Regions from separate parts of the Homo sapiens genome. Here regions 1 and 2 are each linked to region 3. The links are contacts of gene promoters, found by promoter capture Hi-C in blood cells and fetal thymus (Javierre and others, 2016). All regions are on one chromosome and are shown on one strand. The core of a region is centred on a gene start or on the middle of the fragment in contact, and the rest is flanking DNA. Distances in the headings are between cores, read along the strand shown.

What was found. The method cuts DNA at HindIII sites, captures the fragments that hold promoters and counts their contacts. A CHiCAGO score of 5 or more calls a contact.
Region 1: a fragment that was not itself captured here is called in contact with the fragment with the promoter of LINC01460 in region 3 in 1 of 17 cell types (activated CD4 T cells); the score reaches 5.0 in activated CD4 T cells.
Region 2: a fragment that was not itself captured here is called in contact with the fragment with the promoter of LINC01460 in region 3 in 4 of 17 cell types (erythroblasts, M0 macrophages, M1 macrophages and 1 more); the score reaches 7.4 in erythroblasts.

Annotation. Positions count from the first base shown.
Region 1 is chr2:28,243,633-28,246,921 of GRCh38, forward strand. BABAM2 (BRISC and BRCA1 A complex member 2) reads left to right here. Exons shown (of 12, transcript NM_199191.3): 10 at 1,148-1,230. Among named protein-coding and RNA genes, the nearest start is that of BABAM2-AS2, 65 kb to the right of the region's middle. The HindIII fragment of the contact is 4,949 bases long and covers 1-3,289 here.
Region 2 is chr2:28,485,647-28,489,223 of GRCh38, forward strand. No RefSeq gene overlaps it. Among named protein-coding and RNA genes, the nearest start is that of PLB1, 8.6 kb to the right of the region's middle. The HindIII fragment of the contact is 1,706 bases long and covers 1,187-2,892 here.
Region 3 is chr2:27,713,833-27,717,364 of GRCh38, forward strand. LINC01460 (long intergenic non-protein coding RNA 1460) reads right to left here and starts at 1,900. Exons shown (of 2, transcript NR_135200.1): 1 at 1,752-1,900. It overlaps LOC105374378 (a long non-coding RNA gene), which reads left to right and starts at 2,291. Exons shown (of 3, transcript NR_160725.1): 1 at 2,291-2,900; 2 at 3,015-3,186. RefSeq lists a silencer at 1,587-1,996 and enhancers at 2,190-2,704, 2,705-3,218. The HindIII fragment of the contact is 2,174 bases long and covers 594-2,767 here.

The sequences.
Region 1 (3,289 bases), core at 24-2,523, 530 kb after region 3:
GGAGGCAGAGGTTGCAGTGAGCCAAGATCGCACCACTGCACTCCAGCTTGGGCAATAGGGTGAGACTCTGTCTCAAAAAAAAAATAAATAAATTCATAGAAATATAAACTAAAGAATTGTCGACTTAAGATCTGAATGATATACCAACCATTTTTTAGCAGATCACTTACCCTTCAGTATCTTAGTTCTTTTACCTTTATAAGGGGTATAACTGTTCCTTCCAACTTAAACTGGGCGGGCATCAATATCAGTGGTCTGATTGGCCTGGTTTGGTCAGGGATAAGGCATCTCTAAGGACATCAGAGTCCTCCTTGTATGGATGAGAAAGAAAATTATATCTGTCCTTAGTGTGGTTAGTATTGTCACATTATGGCGACATCCTCCAGGCGCTCAGCTCTTGAGGGAAATGGATGAGTTGAGGCTACAGAATTGCGCCTTGGCCCATTCAGAGGTCAGGGGATGTTTTCTTTTGACACATGAAATATGCATCTCCCTTCCTGAACCCAGCATCCACCCATCTAGTGTTGCTACTTTGCCTTAAGCCCAGTGGGAAGGACAGGGGAACACAGTGAAAGGGGACACAGTTGTCTGGTGTGATTGCCCTAACCCAGCTCAAGAAGAAAAGTAATATATAATACTAAATTTAGTAATACTGTCATTGCATATTACTATGTAGTGCCCAGTGAAAGTCAGACTTAACAATCACTGTACAGGTAGTATGCTGACATTTGGCATTGTAGTGTCATTGCTGACTTGATTTCTTAATATGTCCTTCTACTCATAATTAATGTAATAACTCACATTTGTATAGTATTTTATGATTTATCTTATTTGTTTTTCACAACCCTGTAATGAATTTTGCAAATATTTTTATACTTGTTTTGCAGGTAAGGAAACTGAGGCTGCAAAGGTTAAGTGATTTGCCTGAGGTCATAGTAGATAGTCAATGGCAAAGCTGTGACTTAAACCTAGATACTGTCATTCCAAACCCCAGGCCCTTCCTGCATTAATCCTCACTTGCCTTAAACCCATCTCAAAGTCAATAACCCTGACTTCACGAATATATTCTTTACTTGGTTTTATTGCTTTTATACCTTAATTTTATGAGGGTTTTTTTTGTTTGTGTGTGTATGTTTTTATTACTTAGAGGTGTCGTGGAATATGATGCAGAAGGCTTTACAAAACTCACTCTGCTGCTGATGTGGAAAGATTTTTGTTTTCTTGTACACAGTGAGTATACTTTTGCTGTCAGCATGTCAGCATACATTTTTAAATGTCCTAAACCACATGTAATAATCAGTACTAGAACCTTTTCTGTCCTGTCTCGGTTCCTTTTACTGTAGCGTATATATATATTTATTGTGGGATATTAAGGAGAAAATATCTCTAGGCCGGTGGTTCTCAACCACTGGAGCAATTTTGCACCTCAGGGGACGTTTGGCAATGCCTGGAGACATTTTTGATTGTTATGACTGAGGGGGTGGGGATTTGCTACTGGCATCTAATGGGTAGAGGTCAGTGATGCAGCTAAACATCCTACAATGCACATGACAGCCCCTCACACACACACACAAAAAATTATTGAATGCAAAATCTCAGTATTGCCAAGCTAGAGAAACCTTACCCTAAACAGATTCTGTTTCTAATTATCTTTCCAGTATCAGGCCTCAAGACTTTTGGTATTATTGGAAACATACCTGCTGTGATCATTTGGTTATCATCCTTATTCAATGAAAAGTCTACAACTTTGATAAAATGTAATACATAACTTAAAGATGGGGTAATGTTTTAATGTATCCCCAACATCATTTCTTCATGTTCTTCTGCGTAGTAGGCATACCTAATGGTGGTTGTCACATATTAATCCATCAGTCTGTAAACATCGACCCAGCTTTCTCTTGATAGATAATTTAGAGTCTTTTTATTTCCTGATTATGTAAGAACCAGTGACCCATGGAGTCAGGTTCAAGTTGCAAGTCAACTGAGACCTTCATTCTGCAGTAATTTGGTACGTACAATGTTCAGTCTTCAGGCCAAGGCAAAGGAGCCAACTTTCCCAGCTTGAGTTAGAGAAAAGCAGTGGGTTTGAATTGACTTCACTCAAACCCATGGCTTTTAGAACTTACCCTATGCCTTAATAAACTACTGCAGGAGGAATAACTTTGGCTGTATTTAGCCAAGGCATCAGACAGTGTAAAGATACTGACTTTAAGGGATTTTTCTTCTGCAGCAGATTTACCTTCTTCGTTATGATTTGCTTTGGTTAAAATAGTTCTTAAGTTCATTTTTCTATCTGATTACACACCAATAGATAGTAAGGGCAGAAACCAAAAAAACATCCATAGTGGCAGAAAGAAGAAAACGTCTAAGTAAAACCTTATCATGGTAAAATTCATATAGAGATGATCGAGCGCAGGCCACAGTTTTAAGGAGATGGGCCTCTCTGCCTTGAGGTGTTGCCCAACAATCACCACTTTTCAAGGTGTCAGGCACCTTGTCACCATCATAACCTACAGTGTGGGGCCAGGTAAGGAGGAAGCCCCACAATCAAGGCCTCCTGGCAATCTCCTCTTTGCTCAGTGTCTTCGATGGCCCTACTAATCTGAGCCTAACACTGGTACTGCAGCCACCACTTTTGATTCTGACCTTATATATCCTTGCTTTGGTTTGGCATTCTGTGGCTTAATTCCTTTGTGAAATCTCACTTCCTATTTGCTGTATTCACTTTACCTTACGACCTTGGTCCCAGTGATTCTTTCTGTAACCTGATGACCCAACGGCAGATCTTGATTGCTTCCTTAATTTATTCATATCTCTTGTGACTTGGGAAGGTTGTCTGGTGTGATTATCCTAACCCAGCTCAAGAGGGACCTGGGCCTTACCTCAAATGATGGTGGTGACGGCCTCGTGCCTCCTGAGTGGCTGTGGACAACTCCATCACAGCAGGACAATTGCAGACACTAAGATGAATGCTTCAACCAGTTCCTTCATCTCCAAGTGACATAATAGCCTGTCTTTTTTCCTGAATCTTTAGTCTCCTAGCCATGGTTCTACTTTCTGTTGATGTCAGATCATATCAGAATAAGGGGAAAAATATATTTCATGGCATTGCTCAATTATAACCTATGTTTTCCACATGCAACTCAAAGATGACTATTCTGGTGGTTGCTAGCAAGAAGAAATTGTCACTTGCAATGATGGTCAGAGATAAAAGAACATTCACCTCTCAGCTCCTGCCAACTCGTTTGTCAGTACATTCAGTAATGTAGCTATTGCTGTTGCTTTTGAA
Region 2 (3,577 bases), core at 790-3,289, 770 kb after region 3:
ATTTTATTCATCTATGCAGCAATTATTGAGCACTTACAGATACCAGGCTCTGTGCTAAGTGCTGGGGACACAGCAGTGAACTACATGGTCCTTGCCCTCCTGGAATTTACCATCGGACAGACAGGATAGACTTTATTTATTTGTATTTATTTATCTTATTTATTTATTTTAAAAGATGGGGGTCTTGCTCTGTCCCAGGCTGGAGTGAAGCAACCCGATCATAGCTCACTGTAGCCCCGAACTCCTGGGCTCAAGCAATCCTCCTGCCTCAGCCTCCTGAGTAGCTGCGACCTCAGGCACACAACACCACGCCTGGCTAATTTTTGTATTTTTTGTAGAGATGGGGTCTTGCTATGTTGCCTGGGCTGATCTTGAACTCTTGGGCTCAAGCGATCCTCCCACCTTGGCCTCCCAAAGTGCTAGGATTACAGGTGTGAGCCACCACACCTGGCAGGATAGACTTTACAGAAGCAATTAAAAGCACACTGAGTATTGGAGGAGAAGTGCAGGGGGCCAGAGGAGCATGAGGTCAGGGCATCTCTTTCACTAGGCCAGAGAAGGCCCATTGTAGGAAGAAATATTTCAACTGAGACCAGAAGGAGAATTAGGGAGGTCAAGAGGTGGGAAGGGTACTGACACAGTCTGAGAGTTCTGGGCAGAGGGAACAGCACACATTAGGGCTGCCAGGATGCAAAAAGGATGACATTTTTAAGAATATGATGGAGCCTCAGTGAGCCTGAGGTCAGAGAAGATGGGCCAAGTGGGACTTGAAGCTGGAGAGAGGAGGGAGCACAGGGCCTTGTAAGTGACACTACAATGGCTGGACTTGATCTGCAGGGCAGTGGGAAGCTGGTGAGGGTTTTATACAAGGGTGTGACATCAGGTTTGCCCTTTGACAAGATTGTTCAGGCTGTTGTGTGTGAAAACGAAAAGACTGGAACAAGCGTGTGTAGACATGGAGCAGCTGGGCAGCTGTTCAGGGGAGCAGGGACAGATGCCTGGGCCCATCTGGGGGCAGTGGAGATGGAGAACAGTGAGTGGTTTCATGAGCCACTTTTGTCATATCCGATGGGGCTACAAATGAGTCAGGGAAGATCATATGTTTGGTTCTTAACTCCTTGAGTTTGAGGTGCCTCTGAAACATCAAAGTGGAGACTTAGTCCATGAATGAGTTTATGGGGTTTGAAGCTTAGAAGAGAGGTCCGACTGGAAATTGAAATGGGGGAATGGTCAACATAGATTTTTAAGTAAACAATGGGGTGTATGTGGTCACCTTGAGAGACAGGTAGAAAGAGGAGGCTCCAGACGAACTTCAGCAGCAGAGAAGGAGCTGGCAAAGGAGGCCAAGAAGGAACTGCTGGAGAGAAGAAACCAGGAAACTGGAAGCCTGGAGGCCAAGGGCAAGTTGTCCAAGAGTAGGGGCCGAGGTTGGCTGTGAAATGCTGCTGAGATGGCAAGTAAGATGAGGTCTGAGGACCTCATTGTTTATTGGATTGAACAAATTACTGACCTTCAAGCAATTCTAGTAGTGTGGTGGGAGCAGAAGCCACATTGAAGGGTAGGGACAAGTAAGCAGAAGGTGTTTTAGAAAGGTCACCCTGGTGATGGATGCTGACCCGGAAGGGATTGTACACAAATTCAGGTAAGAAATGTTAAGGTGCACAGAACTCAGAGTCTCAGGATGACTAAGGAAACATGGATCTCAAGGTCAACAGAGAGGAACAATTGGAAACTTGGTCTGAGCAGCTCTGTCTCAGAAGCAAAGAAGAAAGTGAGTAGGAGGTAGAAGGAGGCATCCAGGCTTCCCACAGAGACCACGCTGAGATTCCAGCCACTCTCTGGAGAGCCGTGTCCCTGGATGCTCCTCCTCCCACATACTCCTAGAAGGCCTCTGAGAGTCAGTTAAGGACCATACCCAACTGAACAAAAGTGATGCGGTGTTGTGTCTTGGGTTAAGAGACACAAGTTTTTGCTGCACAAAAACTGGATTGAAAATCTGGCTTTCCCACCCGCTCTCTGTGTGGCAAGTTTCTAAACATTTTTGTGGATTATAAGACAGAGTCTGTTTCAGAAAGATTGTACTATGAAAATATGCAGGGATTAGAATGGAGAAGATGTGGAATTTGAAAATTCTGTTTCCTCAAGTTTTCTCTTTGGGTGCTAACCTTGCAGTTACAAACAAAGCCCTTACCGAATCCATGAAGGAAGAGAGGAACAGGGCATGGCGGCTCATGCCTGTAATCCTAACACTTTGGGAGGCTGAGGTGGGTGGATGGTTTGAGCACAGGAGTTCGAGATCAGTCTGGGCAACATGGTGAAACCCCGTCTCTATAAAAAATACAAAAATTAGCCTGGCATGGTAGCACACACCTGTGGTCCCAGGTACTTTGGAGGTTGAGGTGGGAGGATGGATTGAACCCAGGAGGCAGAGGTTGCAGTGAGCCAAGTGAGCCAAGATTGAGCCACTGCACCCTAGCCTGGGTGACAGAATGAGACCCTGTCTCAAAAAGAAGAACGAGAAGGAGGAGGAGAAGGAGGAGAAGGAGGGGGAGGGGAGGGGGAGGGGAGGGGGAGGAGGGGAAGGAACAGGAGGCTGCAATGTCAGCTAGTGGTGCCCAGAGGCAGAGGTGGTAGGCAGTCCCTCAGGATGGAGCCAGCTGAGATGGTAAACTCAGGGCTGTGCCCAGTCCAGCTCGATGTCCCTATGGCTGGAGGTCAGCACAGATCTCTCTACCTAGCCAGGCCTAGTGGCCAGTCTGCATCAGGGCCCTGGGGACAGACGCCAGTCCCAGTCTCACCTCATCTTCTCCTGCCTACTCTTATACCACCACCCTCTCCCCAGGGAGTGCCATCAAGGTAAATAGTGGGACTGCGTAGCTGGGAGAGCAAGCAAGCTTGCACATCATTGCCAAAGCTATTAACACCCACGTGCCAGTGTCTGATGATGTTGACAGCTCAGCCCCAACAAGCTGATGACACCATGCCATGCCATCCCATGCCACGCCACCTCAATCCCCTGTTACACAGCCAAAGGCTCAGAGGCCCATTCCAGAGTGACTGCAGTGAGGATAAAGAGATTTCCCCAGCTGGTAAGTTGCCATGGCTGGGGCTAGAAAGGCTGTCTTTCCTCCCTGGACCCCTTGTCCAGTGGAAGCTTTTCTGGGCAGATGATCTCCTCTGAACACAGGCCAGGGGGATATATGGGGTCAGTGCCTGATGCTTGGGGCTGTTGGAGCCAGGAGCCTCCCATTGTGGTCTGGAGCACATGAGATTCCCAGGGAAAGACTAGGAGCCTTTGGTTATTTCTTTTGGATTTGAAGGACAGATTATAGCTCCCATGGACAGAATGCAAAGGGAATTAAGTGAGGGAAAGATTAGCCCCATAGCAGGTGGTCCTACAGGATCCCCCTGGTGGGCAGAGCATCAAATTTCACAACACTTCTCTCCCCAGAGCCATCTCCTGGCCCTGCCACGTGGGACCAGGACACAGGGGATTTCAGCTCTAAAAGATCCAGGGAAGTTTCTCCCATGTACCAGGACCCAGCAGCCATACTAGCCTGTCTCCATGGGACCCCCC
Region 3 (3,532 bases), core at 650-3,149:
TCAAGTGATCCACCCGCCTTGGCCTCCCAAAGTGCTGGGATTACAGGCGTGAGCCACTGTGCCCAGTCATAGTTTACCCATCTTTAGTTTAAAAAATGACCACAGGCCGGGCACGGTGGCTCACGCCTGTAATCCCAGCACTTTGGGAGGCCGAGGTGGGTGGATCACAAAGTCAGGAGATCGAGACCATCCTGGCTAACACAGTGAAACCCCGTTTTTCTACTAAAAATACAAAAATTAGCCAGGCGTGGTGGCGGGCGCTTGTAGTCCCAGCTACTCCAAAGCCTGAGGCAGGAGAATGGCATGGACCCGGGAGGCGGAGCTTGCAGTGAGCCGGGATCAAGCCACTGCCCTCCAGCCTGGGCAACAGAGTGAGACTTCGGTCTCAAAATAAATAAATAAATAAACAAAATAAATATAAATAAATAAATAAATAAAAACGACCACAAAACTTTATTGGATGCTGCCCACCATGAGGGGCAACAGACAAGTGTGAGTTACTCAAAAAAAGTAAACTAGGCCTTCTCCTTTGACAGGGAGGTGCATTTGAAAGGTGCCTCCCTGTGCACTGACTCACTTAGTCTTGTGAGGGAAGCTTTATTACAATTCCCCATTGCACAGATGAAGTTGGGGCTCAGGGAGGCCAAGGGAATGAAACTACTAAGTATGTAATTGGAACCCAAGTCTCCTGGAATCCAAATGCAGTGTCCTTTCGCTACCAGATGCCAGCAGGACCCAGGTAATGAACTAGGCCAGAGACCTGAAGAGCAGGCCAGCTACCAATGTGACCTCTATCTGCCCACTTGGGGGTGAGATCCTTACCCATACAAAGACAGTTTTAAAATTGATTAAATGTAATGAGGCCGGGGCTGGGGCAGGCTGGCTCACGCCTGTAATCCCAGCACTTTGGGAGGCTGAGGAGGGCGGATAGCTTGAGGTCAGGAGTTTTGAGACCAGCCTGGCCAATATGGTGAAATCCCATCTGTACCAAAAATGTAAAAATTAGCTGGGTGTGTTGGCGCAGGCCTGTAGTCCCAGCCACTCGGGAGGCTGAGGCAGGAGAATCGCTTGAACCCGGGAGGCGGAGGTTGCAGTGAGCGGAGATTGCGCCACTGCACTCCAGACTGGACGACAGAGCAAGACTCTGTCTCAAAAAACAACAAACAAACAAACAAAAGTAAAGAGGCCGATAGAGGGAGAGGAGACCGAGACGTAGGGAGCAGTGAGTCGGTTTGGGATGAGACTGGCAGGAGCAGGCAGATACAGTATTCGACCTCGGAGCTGGGCTTTTAGCCTGGGGTCCTGGCGCCCCTAGAGTGTCAGGAGGTGAGGGCCTGAAGCTACAGGCAGAATCCCAGTGTCTGTGTGGGCCGTGGGCTTGCTCTGGACACTCTGGGGACAGGATGCAAGGCCGTCATCAGATTCTCAAAGGGGCCCGTGTCCAGAAAAAAAACGTGTTAAACCTCCGATATGGAAGCATCTGCAGTCCCCTGCCCGGACCGGGGACACCATGGTGCAATGTATCCCTGTCCCCGTCACTTTTTCTAAATCTTTGCCTAGAAATCCCTCGTGCTGGACTCTTTCACCCTGCACGGGGGAGAAGCCCTCCTCCCGGGAGCCTGTTTGGGGGGCAGGCCTGGCCGAGTGGCTCCGTGAAGACGCAGGCGCGGCCGGAGGGCGCGGGGCTCGGGCAGGATCGCGCCGCCGGGCCGGGAGGGGGCTGCGGGCGCGCGGCGGATGTCACGGCTTACCTCAGAGCCCAAATTAGAAGGCTGAAAAAATCACAGCAGGAAATAATGTGCTGCCTAAAATAGAAGCATCAACTGGGAGAGAGGCCGGGGAGTAGGTGGCATCTGAGGCTCCCGCCGCGTCCTCCCCAGCGGCTGCCTGACGCTGCATCGGAGGCGCGTGGGTGGCGCCCGGCCAGAGGGGCCCAGAGGCCGGGGCGGCCCGGGGCGGGAGGAGGCGAGAGCAGGGCACCCTCCCTCCGCCCCCTCCCCCCTCCCCACACCCCTTCCCTCTTCCTCTCTTTCCCTCCCCTACGGCCCCCACCTCCCCCCACCCCGACCCGCTCCCCCGACACCTGGGCTGGTCCTCCCGGATCCACTCCTCTCCCACACTCCCTCACCTCCCCCCTCCCTCCCCCTGCCCACGCCCCACATACCTGGGCTCCTGCCCCTTCCACCCCTCTCTGCTCCCTCCCTGCCCCCTTCCCTTCCTCCCCTCCCCTTTATCTCACCTTCACCCCCTTTCCTCCTACACCCCTTCCGTGTCCCCACCCCCTGCCCTCAGTCCTCCTTCCTCCTCTTCCCCACATCCCACCTCTCCTTTCCCCCTCCTTGTAGGCCCTCTTTCTCCTCAGCCCCCCTCCCCCCGCCTTTAGTCTCCTACCTCCCCTACAGCCTCCTGCCCCCGCCTCCTCACAGCCCCCTACTTACCCTACTGCCTCCCTCCTGGGGCCCTTTCCTCCCCAAGGGCCCCTCTGTTTTCTCCCATTCCAGCCCCTGACCAGGCCCTGCTCCTCTGCTGGGGTCGGCCCCGCACAGTAAGCTGCCTGGGAGCCCTCATTGCCTTCCTGGGCAACCCGGCCAAAGGCCCCCCGAGCAGCTGCAGCCCTGGAGGTCAGCCTCACCCTGGCAGACCGCAGGGGCCCCTCCTCACCGCCGACCTCTGCACCTTCACCCGTTTGCCTGGTGTCTGAGGAAGGGCCCGCAGGAAGAGCATTCCTTTCCCAGGGTCTTCCTCAGGAGGGATGAGAGGAAGCAAAAGCTTGGTCTGCAAACGGGCTGGTCCTCCCGACGGCCACATCCGCAGGAATGACCCTCAGAGGGGCTCCCCAACTGGCTGGGAGATTCGTCCAGCTGGGCGCTCTGCTACACAGCCCCGTCAAGGGCAAACAGGCATGTACTTAAATGATAAGGGGCGGCCCTTACAGAGCGTGTATATGTGCATATTAGCTCCTTCAAGCCTCACAGCTCCGTAAGCTAGGCACTGTTATTATCCCCATATTATAGATGACAAAACTGAGACACAAAAGATGAATCAGCTTGGCAGTGTTCACAGAGCCAGCGTGTGGAAAAGCCAGAATCCAGACCCAGACCCGAACTGCAGCGTCCCGGCTCTTACCCCTAACCAGCCAGTGCCTCTCAGCTTAGTGCTCTTCCACCCGGCTTTTCTTTCTAAAAAGTGAGTTTCGTCTTTGTTGTTTGTTTGTTTTTGTTTTTTTCTGAAAGTAAGCATGAAGCATTACAGGTGCTTGGAGATTTTCAGTTTTTAAAAATCTGATATTTTTACTTCTCTGGGTGTTTCCCCTGCCAGCTGTTGCTCTCCTGAAAACCGTCTCGCTCATTTTTGCCGGTTCCCAGTGCTGTGCGTCCTCATCGCATTGGTTCGTGCTCCAGGGCCCTGCCCACGCACATATGTGCTGCACTCCTTCCCTCCTGCCTCCTGCCTCTGTGTTGCCCTGGGGCTAACAGCTTATGACTTGCCAAACAGAATCATAAGGAGAGGTGTGTGGCTGATGTGGCATCAC